2 separate regions of the Homo sapiens genome follow, and region 1 is linked to region 2. The links are contacts of gene promoters, found by promoter capture Hi-C in human tissues and cell types (Jung and others, 2019). All regions are on one chromosome and are shown on one strand. Each heading gives the region's core, a stretch centred on a gene start or on the middle of the fragment in contact. The rest is flanking DNA. Distances are from core to core; before and after follow the strand shown. Region 1 overlaps CCDC57 (coiled-coil domain containing 57). Region 2 holds the start of GCGR (glucagon receptor).

Region 1 (4,275 bases), core at 1,583-4,082, 330 kb after region 2:
CTCCTGAGTCTGGGATTACAAGGTGTGGACTACCACAAATGGGTAATTTATTTTTATTTTTATCTTTCTGTAGAGACAACCTTGCTTTTTTTTTTTTTTTTTTGAGACGGAGTCTTGCTCTGTCGCCCAGGCTGGAGTGTAGTGGTGCCATCTCGGCTCACTGCAGCCTCTGCCTCCTGGGTTCAAGCAATTCTCCTGCCTCAGCCTCCCCAGCAGCTGGGATTACAGGCGAGTGCCACCATGCCCGGCTAATTTTTGTATTTTTAGTAGAGACGGGGTTTCACCATGTTGGTCAGGCTGGTCTCAAACTTTTGACCTCATGATCCACCCGCCTCGGCCTCCCAAAGTGCTGGGATTATAGGCGTGAGCCACCGCACCTGGCCATCTTGCTATCTTTTTAAAGATACAAGTTGTGGCTGGGTGCACTGACTCATGCCCATAATCCCAGTACTTTGAGAGGCCATGGTGGGCAGATCGCTTGAGCCCAGGAGTTCAAGACCAGCCTGGGCAACATGGCAAAACTCCATTTAAACAAAAAATATAAAAATTAGCCATTAGGCATGGTGGTACACACCTGTGGTCCCAGCTACTTGGAAGGCTGAGGTGGGAGGATCACTTGAGCCTAGGAAGCCGAGGCTGCAGTGAGCTGTGATTGCACCACTGCACTCCAGCCTGGGTGACAGAGCCAGGCCCTGTCTCAAAGGACAAAAAAAAAAGAAGTTTTTGGGTTCTGGGTGACAGAGCCAGGCCCTGTCTCAAAAAAAAAAAAAAAAAAAAAAAATAGAAGTTTTTGGTTTTTTTTTCACTTATCATACCAGATTAAAAAAATAGTACCCAGATATGTAAAGCTATAGTAAAACATATACATGATACAATTTGTAATGAAAAAATAAAAAAAAATGGGGGCTGGGCGCGGTGGTTCATGCCTGTAATCCCAGCACTTTGGGAGGCAGAGGCGGGTGGATCACCTGAGGTCAGGAGTTTGAAACCAGCCTGGCCAATATGGTAAAACCCCATCTCTACTAAAAATACAAAAATTAGTCAGGCGTGTTGGTGCATGCCTGTAATCCCAGCAACTCGGAAGGCTGACTCAGGAGAATTGCTTGAACCGGGAGGGGGAGGTTGTAGTGAGCCGAGATTGCACCACTGCACTCAAGCCTGGGCAACAGAGCAAGACTGTCTCAAAAAACAAACAAACAAATGAGAACCAAAACCAAACCAAAACAAAACAAAAACCCAGCAGAAAACACATTGAAATGTTACTAATAACTATATCTGGATCCTGAAAATTGGAGGCTTTTTATATTGTGTTTATTGTAATCTGAAGTTTCTGTAATGAAAACGACACAATTAGGGAAATATTTTTAAAAATGCATGTCTTAGATGAAGGGGTGTTACCTGAGATGTAAAATGGGGCTGCACCTGTCCCAAAGGTGGGCTGCGATCCAAAGGCCTCCTGGGCTCCTCGCCTGGCTTCCGGGCCTCAGGGGCAGGAGGGAGGGCGTGGTGCAACAGCCACCCTGGGAATGGGATGGGGACAGAGTTTGTTCTCTGTGCATCACTTCTGGATTCCTCTTGTGTTGAATGCAAACACTCAGAAAGAACAGCATGTTCCTTTTCAAAACCAAAGTAACTTCCATTACATCGAGAACTTGGGGAGGGCCGGACAACAGTGAACTGTGACACACAGCATTTCGGTAGAGCTCTTGCACACACAATGCCACGCCCCTGCCACACACAGCCCTTGCTGTCCTCACAGCGGGGGCAGCAAGCACATTCGCTAACAGAAGCACCCAGACGCCCTTTCTGTGGCAGGCACAAAGAAGAAGCAAAAACTTGCCAGGTGCGGAGGCTCACGTCTGTAATCCCAGCACTTTGGGAGGCTGAGGCAGGTTGCTCACTTGAGGCCAGGAGTTCGAGATCAGCCTGGCCAACATGGTGAAACTCCGTCTCTACTAAAAATACAAAAATTAGCTGGGCGTGGTGGTGGGCACCTGTAATCCCAGCTACTCGGGAGGCTGAGGCAGAAGAATTGCTTGAACCCGGGAGGCAGAGGTTGCAGCGAGCCGAGATCATGCCACTGCACTCCATCCTGGGTAACTCCATCTCAAAAAGCAAGCAAACAAACAAACAAAAGAAGCAAAAGCTTAAGTATAACAACTTAAAAATGATGGTTCTACTCAAAGCTTCGGCATGCTAGCTTACTTAGAAATGACCCCACATCAAACGAGATCCTTTCATCAATTCCATTCATGTTATGTTATGTAAAGATCTGCTCCTTCTCTAAGCAGACACATCAGAAGACATAATTACTGAAATAACATTTCCCAGGATTACAAATCAGTTTCGTTAAACTCACTGAGGATTCCAACAAGGTTTTTGGAGGGTGTTTATAACTGTTGACATTTCACATATTGGAAATTGAAACAGACATTTTTTTTTTTGAGATGGAGTTTCGCTCTTGTCCCCCAGGCTGGAGTGCAGTGGCGCGATCTCGACACCCCCAGAACATCCACCTCCTGGGTTCAAGCAATTCTCCTGCCTCAGCCTCCCAAGTAGCTGGGATTACAGGCATGCGCCACCACGCCCGGCTAATTTTGTATTTTTAGTAGAGACGGGGTTTCTCCATGTTGGTCAGGCTGGTCTCGAATTCCCGACCTCAGGTGATCTGCCCGCCTTGGCCTCCCAAAGTGCTGGGAATACAGGTGTGAGCCATGTGCCTGGTCAAAACAGAAAAATTTTAAAGCTTTTTTATCAATTAACTTGAAGTTAGCCATGATGAACATATTGCTTATGATCAACATCTGAGGAGCATCGCAGGATTAGCTCTGCCCTGTGGACATCCCGAGATGGGCCCTCAAGTAAAGCATCAGTTTCTTCTACGCAATAAAAGAACCCAAAGATGACACTTGGAAATGAACGTGTTTCCCTTGGTTTATAAACACCTGAATTTAAAAGCCATGAAGTCAGAAGATGCACGTGTGGGCAAAAACCTCCTGAAGACACTCAACACCATTGGTCACCAGGAGAATGTAAAATCAAGCCCACTATGGGATCCCGCCTCACACCCACTAGGTTGGCTGGGATCAACAGGATAGAAAACAGCTGGGTGCGGTGGCTCACACCTGTAACCCCAGCACACTGGGAGGCCGGGTGGGGGGGATCCTTGATGTCAGGTGTTGGATACTGGCGTGGGCAACACAGTGAGATCCCACCTCTATTTTTAAAAGAAATTTTTTTAAATATAAAAAAAATAAAGTTTTTAAAGATATGCAATAAAAGTATTCTTAATTAAAAAAAACCCCGACAGAAAATAGCAAGTGCTGGTGCAGATGTGGAGAAATCAGAACCTTCGTGCGCAGCTGGTGGGCATGGGAGGCGGTTTGGTGGCTCCTTACCAGGTTAGACACAGAATTCCCACATGACCCAGCAAGGCCACTTCTAGGGAGGCATCCAAGAGAACTGAATGTTCACAGCAATATTATTCACAATAGCCCAAAGGCGGAAACCATCCAAATGTCCATCAAACTGATGGACAAATGCCTACAGTGGCCTGTCCCCCAGCAAAGAGCTCTTCCCATGGAAAGGAATTAAGTGCAGACGCCCCAGCACGAGGGACCCTCAAACAGGACACAGAGGGAAAGAAGCCAGGCACAAAGGGACACATCCTGTGGGATCCTGCTGAAGTGAAACGTCCAGAACAGGCAAAGGCATGGAGGCAGAATGTGGGTGCTGGGCGGGGGACAGGAAGCAACTGCGAATGAGTGTGGGGTTTCCTCTGAAGTGAAAGGAATTCTGGAACAAATGATGATGCTCGCACAACATTCTTGACGTGCTTAATGCACTGAACTGTATACTTTGTATACTTCATGAGCTTTCAACAGTACATTTTATATGTATAGTACCAAAAAAAAAAAAAAAAAAAGAAAACTAGTTTTTTTGAGACAGAGTCTTGCTCTGTCACCCAGGCTGGAGTGCAGTGGTGCAATCGCGGCTCACTGCAGCCTCCACCTCCTGGGCTCAAGCGATCCTCCCACCTCAGCCTCCCAAGTAGCTGGGACCACACCCAGCCAAGTTTTTTGTTTTTTAGTAGAGACAGGGTGTCACTATTCTGCCCAGGTTAGTCTCAAACTCCTAGCCTCAAGTGATCCTCCTCCCTTGGCCTCCCAAAGGGCTGGGATTAGAGGCATGAGCCACTGCACCCAGCTGAAAGCTAGGTCTTGTTTTCTCAATCCTTACTTGGTTGAAAGAAAGCTAGTTTTTTAAAAAGCCATG
Region 2 (4,459 bases), core at 1,960-4,459:
CTCTGTTTATATGTCTCACCAATGTCAAGGGAAACCAGAACTGGATAGCAGTTGAAACACATATTTTGTTCGGGACTATTGTAATAGGGGAAAAAAGATTTTAGTATAGACCTGGGCTCAACTCTCAATGTGGCACAGGCAAGTGGGGATTTAGATCTGAGGAGCAGGGCGGGGTCAGTGGGTGGAAAATTACTGGCACGAAACACCTGTCTGGAGGATTCTGGCTAAACCCAGGAAACAGGAAGCTTGCTGAGGGCAGGCAGGGTTAGCAGACATCGCCTGGGGGTGGCGGAGGCTGAGAACCCTACCCAGGTAAAATGAAGCTTGCTGACGGCAGACAGGGTTAGCAGACACGGCCTGGAGGTGGCAGAGGCTAAGGAACCTACCCAGGTAAAACGAAGCTTGCTGACGGCAGACAGGGTTAGCAGACACGGCCTGGAGGTGGCAGAGGCTAAGGAACCTACCAAGGTAAAATGAAGCTTGCTGAAGGCAGCCAGGGTGAGCAGATATTGCCTGGGGGTGGCGGAAACTGAGGACCCTACCCAGGTAAAAGGAAGCCTGCTGAAGGCAGGCAGGGTGAGCAGACATTGCCTGTGGGTAGCAGAGGCTGAGGACTCTACCCAGGTAACAGGAATCTTGCTTAAGGCAGGCAAGGTGAGCAGACATCGCCTGGGGGTGGCGGAGGCTGAGGACTCTACCCAGATAACAGGAATCTTGCTGCGGGCAGCCAGGGTGAGCAGACGTCGCCTGGGGGTGGTGGAAGCTGAGGACCCTACCCAGGTAAAAGGAAGCTTGCTGAAGGCAGGCAAGGTAAGCAGACATCGCCTGGGGGTGGCGGAGGCTGAGGACCCTGATCAGATATGGGGGGATGGAGGCTTCTTGCCAAACTGACTTAGCAGAGTTCTTGCTGAATCTGGATTTTATAAGGCAGAATGCAGATGAGCCTGTGAGAAGGTTCTGAAGCCGGACTACAGTTTGGTCAAGCAAACAATCTTGTCATGGATTCAGTCATATAAATAAGGGTCACCCAGCCCAGGGGAGGTGCCCCACCCCATCTGTTCCCTCTCCCTCCCCACACTGAGTCCGAACCTTTCAGGCTTTGCCCCCTTCACACACTCCAAATTTATTCTTCTACTTCTCTTCCTGCAGGTACCAGACTCCGGCCACCCAGCGCTTACCTGGGACTGCTGGGCCTCTGCCCCGTGGGGACCTGTCCTCCAGGAAACAAGGCCAGACACAGGAGGGCAGGGAGGACTCTTCTCCAGGGCCGGTGCGCCGTCTCTTCAGCCCCATGGCACTTGACTTAGGCAGAGCCTACAGCACCCTCACCCCAGTCCCTGCAGCCACCAGGAGGTGGTCCCCCTCATCCCATTAGCCATCACCGCCATTCACAGAGGTCTCGGACTGAGGCTGGCAGGGGGAGCACCATGACCCAAGATCAGAACCCTGTTGTCTGTGCCTCTGGAGAGGTGGGGGCAGGAGCTGAGGGAGGGTTTGGGTGGAGAGGGGAGAAGATGCAGTAGCAGGAGCAGATGCTGGCAGGTAGAGACAAACTTTTATGACCTTTGCCTTCTGACCTTTGCCTCTGGCCACTGCTCCAACTAAAACAGAATGGCCCCCTCTGGGAACAGGGCTTCCTATGGGCTGGGAAGCATGGAGCCCCCACAGTGTGGCTATGCAGGGGAGTGAGGACCAGGTGGGGGCAGGCCTGTGGGGGTCACAGAGCTGGGCTAAGCTTCAGAGGGAAGTGGCCCCTGGGAGGGGGAATGGCTGGGGTTAAGACCCTGGGTTCCCACGCCCCCAAAACAGAAGTAGAATTAGGGAGAAAGGACCCCCAAGACCAAGGACGGCACCTATCAGAGGAGCTCTCCACGGGCAGGAGGTGTCCCAGGGTGAGGGTGGCCAGGACAGGTCTAGGGAAATGCAGGTGGAGCAGGACCCAGAGATGGATTGGAGATGCCGGAGGGGAGGCTTCCTAGCGGGAGCGGAGACAGGCACTGCAGACAAGTGTCAGCGGGAGGGGCTCTGGGTGGGGAAGAAGACTGGGACTTGGAGGAAGACCTCTCCAGGGAGAAGGGAGGAGGGGGAAGGAGAAGGGGAGGAAGTGGGAGGAGGAGAGTGCTCATCCTGGAAGCCACAGCCTCGGAGAGAACTTTCTAGAAGGAAGGCATGACCATCAGTGTCCCAGGATGCTGAGAGGCCAGGAAAGGTGAGGCCTCAAGGCGCCATGGGGTTGTGGTGACCCCAAGATCACTGGGCACAGAGCAGGGATGGCTGGGGGTGGAAGGGGAGGGGCGCGGGCTGAGGTTCTAGGGCCCCAAAGCCAGGTGTGATGTGGCTCTAGGGGGAGTGAGGAAGGGGAGAATGTCCCTCTGAGCGTGCCTCTTGGGGAAGGCAGGGGTTCTGGCTGGGGCTTCTCCACTCCCAGGAAAGGAGGTGGTGTGGAAGGAGCGGGTGGGACGGAGGAGAGAGCGCCCCGCGGCCGCAGGACCAGCAGGTGGGGGACCAGGGTCAGCGCTGCTGGAGGGGCCTTAGCGCGACAGGACTGGCCAGAGACCGGGGATGTGGCACAGAAAGAGTTAAAGGGCACCCCAGGGACCGCCCTGCCGGTCCACCCATGTCACCCATGTTGGCCCCTACTCCAGCCCCCGTCTGCTCTGCAGGGGAAGGAACCGGGAGCCGCGGTGGGGGCGACTGGGGGTGTCGGTCTTTCCAGAAAATCAGGCAGGCATCAGGAAAGAAGGGGCGAGAACCCGGGGACGCGAGAGGAAGGGGGCGAGGGGGCGCCCAGGGAGGCGGAGGGAGCGAGAGGAAGGGGGGCTGAGCCACGGCCCCCACGCCCGCGCGCCCCTCCGCGTCCCAGGGCGTCCCCTCCCGGAGCTGGGACCCACCGCGACCACCACCTGCTGGGCCAGGGTCCGCGGGCTCAGGGGTCTGCAGGATTAGGGTCTGCGGAACCAGGACCCGTGGGACAAAGGTCTGTGGGGCGCGGGTCCGCGGGGTGGAATTCAGCGCGCCGAGTCTGCGTATGGCCGGGGTACGAGGCGCTCCCTGCGCAGGGTGGGCAGGACCGAAGCTCGCCGGGAGGCTGCGCGGAGGGCGGGCGGGGACCCTCGGCTGCCGCTCCCACCCCCGCGGGGCCGCCCCCGAGCCCGCCCTCCGCCGCCGCCCTCGCCCTGCGTCGCCGCCGGAAAGTTTGCACCGACCCCGATCTGGCAGCGCCGCGAAGACGAGCGGTCACCGGCGCCCGACCCGAGCGCGCCCAGAGGACGGCGGGGAGCCAAGCCGACCCCCGAGCAGCGCCGCGCGGTGAGCACCTGGGCCGCGGCCCCGAGGGGACGTTGGGGAGTCGACCCGGTGGGGACAGAGACCGCGGGGCGGGCGCGGCGGGGCCGGGGGCGCGGGGAGCGGGGAGCCGGCCGGGCGGTCTCCGGGGTCCGGGCTGGTGCGCTCCTCAGTCCCGTCAGACACCCCCGTTCCCAACCCCGGCTCGGACACCACCCGGTCCTGCACCGTCGGGCAGGTCCAGGGGTCTCAGCCCCTCCCCCGTTCTCTGGTCCTGGGGGGCGCGGCTGGGGGCGGGGGTGTCGCTGGCCGCCTGGCGCCCTGCGGCGGCCACACTGCAGCGGCCACACTCCCCACTCAGGGCCCCGGGCCCCGCCGCCCTGGGGAGCGCACAAAGCGCCGCGGACGCGTCCCCGAGGCGCGGGGTCTCACCAGCGCTGTCTCCCCTCGGTGGGCTCCTGCCCCGAGGACTGCCCGGTGGCACCGGCGCGGCCCAGGATGGGGTGAGGGGTGTCTGCGCCCCGCCTGGCCGCTCCTCTTCCGCGGCCCACACTGGCGACTTTGACCCCGGCAAGCGGGTCACTGCCCTGCCCGGCTCCGGCCCCCCCGGCGCCCCACCACCCGGCCGACTCGGCCACCGGGCTTATGCTCCGACTCTGAACCGACTGACCCCGGCCCCCTCGGCGCCCGCATCCTCCAAGGACCGGCCAGGGCTGCTCTCTGCCCTTGGTATTGGGGACATCAGGGTTGGGGGGTCTGGGTGCACCCACGCCTGCCCCGCCCCCACGGGGTGAGGGCGCAGGGATAGGGCTTTGTCAACAGCCTGTGGCCCCTGATCCCGCCCCGGTGCCCTGACCTTCCACTACCTTCTCTGGTTTCACAAAAACATCCCGGCTCCCATCCCGGAGCTCCTCAAAGCGTCTGAGAGGCCCCTTGCGGACGCCCTGGGAGCCCCGCTGCCTTCCTGGACCAGTGGCCGCTCCACCCATCCTGGGGGCCCAGCTCCAGGTCTGCGGGTCCCTCAGCCGCCCCCAGTGGGAATCGGTGGAGCCTGACGCAGCCAGGAGCGCCCAAGAGTCACGTGTTCTGCCAGGGAGGACATGGGACAGGACACGGGGTGCCAGCCCTGCAAAGCGGCCGGGGCAGTGGAGCTCAGGTGGCCCTAAGCCCTGGT

The links. The method cuts DNA at HindIII sites, captures the fragments that hold promoters and counts their contacts. A contact is called where the count stands out against the background at its distance.
Region 1: a fragment that was not itself captured here is called in contact with the fragment with the promoter of GCGR in region 2 in 3 of the 25 tissues and cell types used here (dorsolateral prefrontal cortex, lymphoblastoid cells and spleen).

The regions. Positions count from the first base shown.
Region 1 is chr17:82,132,675-82,136,949 of GRCh38, forward strand. CCDC57 (coiled-coil domain containing 57) reads right to left here. Exons shown (of 19, transcript NM_001394669.1): 16 at 1,399-1,520. Among named protein-coding and RNA genes, the nearest start is that of FASN, 37 kb to the left of the region's middle. The HindIII fragment of the contact is 3,997 bases long and covers 835-4,275 here.
Region 2 is chr17:81,800,941-81,805,399 of GRCh38, forward strand. It overlaps GCGR (glucagon receptor), which reads left to right and starts at 3,210. Exons shown (of 14, transcript NM_000160.5): 1 at 3,210-3,309. It overlaps LOC105376789 (a long non-coding RNA gene), which reads right to left and starts at 3,805. Exons shown (of 4, transcript XR_001753046.3): 1 at 3,718-3,805; 2 at 387-1,410; 3 at 20-75. RefSeq lists an enhancer at 2,679-3,178. The HindIII fragment of the contact is 39,466 bases long and covers 1,264-4,459 here.